Regions from separate parts of the Homo sapiens genome. Here region 2 is linked to region 1. The links are contacts of gene promoters, found by promoter capture Hi-C in human tissues and cell types (Jung and others, 2019). All regions are on one chromosome and are shown on one strand. The core of a region is centred on a gene start or on the middle of the fragment in contact, and the rest is flanking DNA. Distances in the headings are between cores, read along the strand shown.

The links. Contacts are between HindIII fragments. The study calls those that stand out against the background at their distance.
Region 2: a fragment that was not itself captured here is called in contact with the fragment with the promoter of USP48 in region 1 in 1 of the 25 tissues and cell types used here (dorsolateral prefrontal cortex).

The regions. Positions count from the first base shown.
Region 1 is chr1:21,781,552-21,784,642 of GRCh38, forward strand. It overlaps USP48 (ubiquitin specific peptidase 48), which reads right to left and starts at 1,598. Exons shown (of 27, transcript NM_032236.8): 1 at 1,273-1,598. The coding sequence starts at 1,406. RefSeq lists enhancers at 282-331, 644-1,415, 892-991, 1,416-2,186, 1,932-1,981 and a silencer at 1,362-1,721. The HindIII fragment of the contact is 7,275 bases long and covers 1-3,091 here.
Region 2 is chr1:21,323,130-21,326,220 of GRCh38, forward strand. It overlaps a transcript of ECE1 not described here. Among named protein-coding and RNA genes, the nearest start is that of ECE1-AS1, 31 kb to the left of the region's middle. RefSeq lists an enhancer at 588-1,148. The HindIII fragment of the contact is 5,859 bases long and covers 1-3,091 here.

The DNA.
Region 1 (3,091 bases), core at 348-2,847:
GGCGAAAACCCGTCTCCACTAAAAATACAAAACTGAGTCGGGCGTGGTGGCCCGTGCCTCTAATCCCAGCTACTCCGGAGGCCGAGGTGGGAGGATCGCTTGAGCCTGGGAAACGGAGGTTGCAGTGAGCCGAGCTCGTGACACTGCACTCCAGCCTGTGTGACAGAGTGAGACCCTGTCTCAAAAACCACCAGAACTATTAGTAGTTTACATTATTTGGTTAGTCTGGAAACTAATTACGTTGAGAAACTGACTGAAGCTTGATTATTTCTATTATACACAGACTTCAAACATTCCAGAACTTACTGTTAAAGTCAGATTTACCCTCCTTGTGAGACAGACGCCCAGAGCTTGGACTTATTCGTTTGCTTTATAGAAACTCCCTAACTTATTTCACTTCTCATACTAGACTTTAAGCTCCAAAGCCAGAGACCATGACTTCCATTCCTTCCGGATCCCCCAGCGGAATGTAAAAACTCCAGAAAGCATTTCCTAAATGCCTGCCGAAAGACGGCTACTGAGCATGCCCGGCTTGGCCAAGTCAATTTCAACAACATTCTGAAACAAAAACTATAGTTCCCGCGTTACAAGGTGGAAAAAAGGGAATAAACGGGAGCAAAGCCTAAGGATTCAATCTATATGAGGGGGTTAAGGAAAGGTAAAGTTCAAGGGCGGCGCAGACGTGAAGGACAGCACTATCACAGCTTAAACTTGGTACTCGGTAAACTGGTGTCGAACCAGAACGACCAAAGAAAGGCTTAAAAAAAATACTAGATTAACGAGTGAGGGAAGGCCAACGGGGGTGCAGGGTATCGATGACGTAGGCTGACCACAGTTTTTTCTAAAGCTGCCCTCTACAAAAATAATACTAAGATGATCAGGCCTTCGGTGTCAACACCAACAAGATACACTGTGATGAAGCTCACTTCCAAAAAGTTCCTTTTTACAAACGAAAGAGCCGTGCTGTGGCCAAGATACCCCAACCATCAACGCTTGCTAAGCTCTCAGCTCCTGCCTTCATCTCCACCGCCATCTTCTGGATGGGAACCCAAACCTTCCTAAAGTGCTTTGGCCAGCATCACCTCCGCGCACAGCCCGGGAAGCCTGCGTTTCCCAGGTCGCGCAGACGGCGCAAAGGGGGAAACTCCACCTCGCTCGGCTCCGCGCCTCCCAAATGCACGCAAAGGGCTGCCGTCTTCCTTTCCCCTACCCCGCCCGGGCTTTCCAAGGTCCGGCGCGAGGAGCCCGCGAGGCGCGGTGCGCGGGCCTCACCTGCACACGCCGCGAATGCAGGGCTCCAGCCAGATGCGGTAAGCGGTCTCGATGTGCTCCTGCGACACCTCCTCGGGCCGCACCGTCTCCGCCCAGCGCCAGGCCGCCTTCTCCAGCTGCAGCCGCGGGGCCATGGCCTTGGCCCCAGGAACGCCTCCCGAGCCAGACCGCCGCAGCCGCCGCCGCGGTCTGCACCGCCGCCCCAATGGGCTTCGCCACCTGCCAGCAAGGAGGACCTGGCGCTCCTTCAGGCAGCTGGCCAGTCAATCACCTGTGCGCGCCACTGCCGCCGCGCCCGCCCGCGCCCGACCCGCACGACCGGCCGCAAAGCGCCGCCGTCGACACCCGACACACCCCGCGCCCGCGGACGTTAAAGGTGGACTCCCCGCCGCGCTGAGCGCATGCGCGTTCCCAGCAGCCTCTGCGCCTCCCGCGCCCCTAACCCGACGGGCTGAGGTAGAGGAAGCGTACGTCCGAGGCGGTCTTGCCACGTCCTCACTGGCACTTCTGGAAAAGCAGCGTCTCAGCCCCCGTTCAGGGCGGCGCACTACGTACCACTACTCTAACAAACCAGTGCCTCGAAAGCTATTTCTTGCCTCCGGTACTTCCCTTTTAACCATGAAGTTTTCACGCTAGAGGCTACTCAACGCACACACAGGCCCGCCCAGACTGTGGAGCGGGACCTGTTTAGAGTAGAAACCGAGTCGCCAAAGAAACCAGTGTTGGCTCTTTAGAGGGAGATTTAACTTGAGCCTAGACCGGTTCCGAACCCCTTTCCCGAGCCCTCCTGACGTCATGGGACCTTCCGGCCTTTTCCCGTGCTAGGGTGGGACTACGTGTCCCGGCATGCCCTGCGTCCTGCCACTGACTGTGAGGCATGCTGGGATTTGTAGTCTTCGAGGTGGGAGTGCTCAGTGCGCCGCAGACTGTGCGGGCGGGGGTCCGAGGTGCCAGGGTGGAGTTTCTCTGGTGCGCAAGGTCATGTTTGCTGTTGGCTCCCTTCTCAAGACTGTTACCTCTATGCCAGGATTTTCTAGTTCCTCTCTAGCTCCTGGTTTAAAACATTTCCTTTCTGCGACTCCTGCCCCAGGACATAAAGAGTAGCTTTATGAGAATTGTTTTGCAAACTGTAAAGAACTCTACTAAAGTGAGGATATTTAAGAATTTTGAATTTGAATTAGAGCTCTGCCAGAATCTAAGCGCTAACTTCTGACTCAGCTGCTTGCCTGCTGGAAAACCTTAGGCTGAATTCTTTAGATAAACATTCACTGGGCCGAGCACCGTGGCTCAAGGATCCAATCCCAGCACTTTGGGAGGCCGAGGTGGGCGGATCACCTGAGGTCAGGAGTTCGAGGCCAGCCTGACCAAAATGGAGAAACCCCGTCTCTACTAAAAATACAAAATTAGCAAGGCGCGGTCGCGCATGCCTGTAATCCCAGCTAGTCGGGAGGCAGAGGCAGGAGAATCGCTTGAACCCGGGAGGCGGAGGTTGTGGTTAGCCGAGATAACGCCATTGCACTCCAGCCTGGGCAACAAGAGTAAAACTCCGTCTCAAAAAAAACAAAAAAATTCGCTGAAGGCAGAAGAAAGTAAGATGTGGTCCCTGCCCTTGGAAGTGGGTTAGGGAGTGAGCGGTAGAAATACAAAGATCCCCATCCCAGTCTTGGGAGGCTTCGGGGTACTTGAGAAAAGGCTTCCCAGAAGTAATTCCGAAGCCCGCTTTTAACGGGTGAGTTGGACTTATCCAGGATAGAAGAAAGACACCATTCCAGAAAAAAAGAAACCACAAGGAGCAAAGGCACAGAAGAGAAAAGCTTGG
Region 2 (3,091 bases), core at 282-2,781, 460 kb before region 1:
GATGCAAGTACCCTACTCTGATCCCCAGGGCAATCTCACACACTGGTATGAGAAGCTCAAATATAAAAATTAAGCATGAAACCTCAAGAGTGGATAAGCTGACCTTGAGGGCGTAGGTGGAGAAAGGCCCTAGCCTCCCAGAACAACACAGCTGGAACCGGCGGGGGGAGGGTTATGGATCAAAATACACAATAGCCCTGACTGCAGGCCGGATACTCTGCCAGGGGCTCACATCCATTCACTCATTCATTTTCCTCTTACCCTCTTTAAAATCGTGTGCCTACTACGTGTTAGCACTGTTCTCGACAGATATAGCAGGAAACAAAACAGACAAAATCCTTGCCTTTGGGCCAAGTGCAGTGTTCATGCCTGTAACCCCAGCACTTTGGAAGGCTGAGATGGGAGGATCACCTGAGCCTGGGAGTTCGAGACTGCAAAGAGCTGTGATTGTGCCACTGCACTCCAGCTTGGGTAACGGAGTGGCACCCCGTCCCAAAAAACTAAAAATAAAATAAAATAAAATAAAATAAAATAAAATAAGCCTTGCCTTCATGAAACTTATATGCTAGTAGGAGACAGAATAAATAAGACAAATCAAATATGCAGCATGTTAGACTGTGGGAGGGGCTAAGGGGAGCAATGAGGTAGTGAAGGGAGACAGAAAATGGGAGATGGGGGCAATTTTCTTTCTTTTTTTTTTTTTTTTGAGACATAGTTTCACTCCATTGCCCAGGCTGGAGTGCAATGGTGCAATCTCGGCTCACTGCAACCTCCACCACCCGGGTTTCAAGCTATTTTCCTGCCTCAGCCTCCTTGAGTAGCTGGGATTACAGGTATGCACCACCATGCCCGGCTAATTTTTTTGTATTTTTAGTAGAGATGGGTTTTTGCCATGTTGGTCTGGCTGACCTCAAACTCCTGACCTCAAGTGATCCACCTGCCTCAGCCTCCCAAAGTGCTGGGATTACAGGCATGAGCCACTTCACCCGGCCTGTTTTGTTTTTAAAGAGACAAGGTCTCACTCTGTTGCCCAAGCTGGAGTGCGGCCTTGACCATAGCCCATGCAGCCTCGACCATAGCTCATGCAGCCTTGACCTCCTGGGCTCAAGCGATCCTCTTGCCTCAGCCTCCCAAGTAGCTGGGACTACAGATGTGCACCACCACACCCGGGCTCATATAGCTTCTTAACTGGGTGGGCAGAGGAAGCAGGGGGCAGAGGCCCATCCCCAAGGGAGAAACCATCCATCAGTGCGGGACTGACAGGGACACTCCACCCACTCAGCCCAGTGTGCTTCTGTCCAGGGAGACTCCAACGGCTGCCACAGCTGTGGTTTACTGACTTCAGGTCTGACTGCCCTCTCCAGAGCTGCCCTAGAATCCCTTTGTCTGTGGCTGAAGTGTCCCTCAGAGCTGAGGAACAAGTTTGGAGAGGACCAGGAGGGGCTCTCCCCACCCCCGCCCCTTTCCCACATGAAGAGAAACATTTCAGGGTTGAAAAAATGACTCATTCTCCCCAGAGAGGGCTGGAGCTGAGCTGAGTCAGGCAGAAGGAGCCCGCGGGTCACTTAATCGGCCTCCCTGCTCTGGCAGAGATGGCTCTGGGCCCCAGGAAGCCAGGGACAAATGGAGGCGGAGGTGGCAGAGATAAGCAGCTAGTGGAGTGTGCCAGCCTCTCCTTCCCCAACCGAGTGTGTCACTGGGCGTCACCCAGCACTGCTCAAGTTGAACCTGATGCAGAAGAAAAATTCCTCTGGACTTTCCTGAACGAGCTTTATGGCTGACTCACTGCCACCTGGAGCCTGCAAGAAAAGTCACAAATCACGAAAGAAGGAGAAAAACAGTTCTCGTTAAGCCATGTCTTCAATGGAGGTATCAGAGGTCGCCAGGAGGAAAGCACACATGTTTTGTTGTGGGTTTCCTTCTCTAAAGAAACACGTTACACAATAGAGGGGGGTTGAGACTGGTTGCAAAACTGCAAAATCCAATTTTGTGTACTGGATTCAATTTCTTCATTAGCTGACACTAAACACAGAGACGGGGCCCTTGTGACTAGATGAACCATAAACTGGCTCCAGGACCACCAACCTGGTACCTGATGGCTTGTTTCTGCTCCCCACTCTTTCCCTCCATGCATCTTTCTCTGAGCTTCTGCTCAAGGCAGGTGCCAGGACAAGCCAGCGTCTCGAGCGGTTCCCCTTCAGCGGTGAGAAGTAACGTCACAATTAAGGGGCAAGAGGGGCCAGAGGACAGAACAGTGCCAGTTCCTCATCCAGATTGAAATTTGCTTCCAGCTGCCTGTCCCCACACCAGAAAGGGCACTCCCTGCTCCCCATGCAGGCTTCTCATCCTCTTTTGCTGGCCTCCTCCCTCCTCGCTGTCCCTGGTCTTTTTCAGCCACAAGCAAAACACACTCAGCCTTGAAGTCAGATGCTCTACAGAAGCCTGCAAAAACAGAGTCAGGAGTTGTGTGGCCTTGGCCGAGTCACCTCACCTCACCAAGCCTCAGCCTCCTCACCTATTAAATGGGGACACAATAGGACCCACTTCCTTGGAGCTGACTGAGGTATGAATTGAGTCAATGCATTCATTGCTCAGCACACAGCTTAGCTCAAAGTTAATGCTCAATAAATTGTGGTTCCCACCTCCTGCTCCACGGAGCAGACATGAAACAGGTACGAGAAGCAACGAGAAGGGGCGGCAGCAGAGCATCAACACACAGGGAGTCCTGCCTACTGTCCCGACGCCACCCAGAGGCTCAAGGGGTGCCCCGGCTGCTCTCCGAAGCTGCCGGTGGCACTTTCGCCAGCCACCTTGTTTCCAAACTTGCTGCCAGCTTCCCCTAGCGCAGTGATTTCCACAACGGAGCTCCCGGCTGTGGGAAGGGGGCTTTCTTTGACTTGTCCTAAAATGGCCTCACCTGGACCCAGTGGGGTGTGGGGACCAGGGGGCTGGGCCTGGACCTATGAGCATGTTTCCTGCCTCCTCTCAGCCCCCATCCTTCTGCCGCCCCACGTTCTCAGCCAACAATAGCTGCTTCCCAGACTCAGCTGCCACACAGCACGAGCTCCCTGAGCAAAAATACCCATGCGGG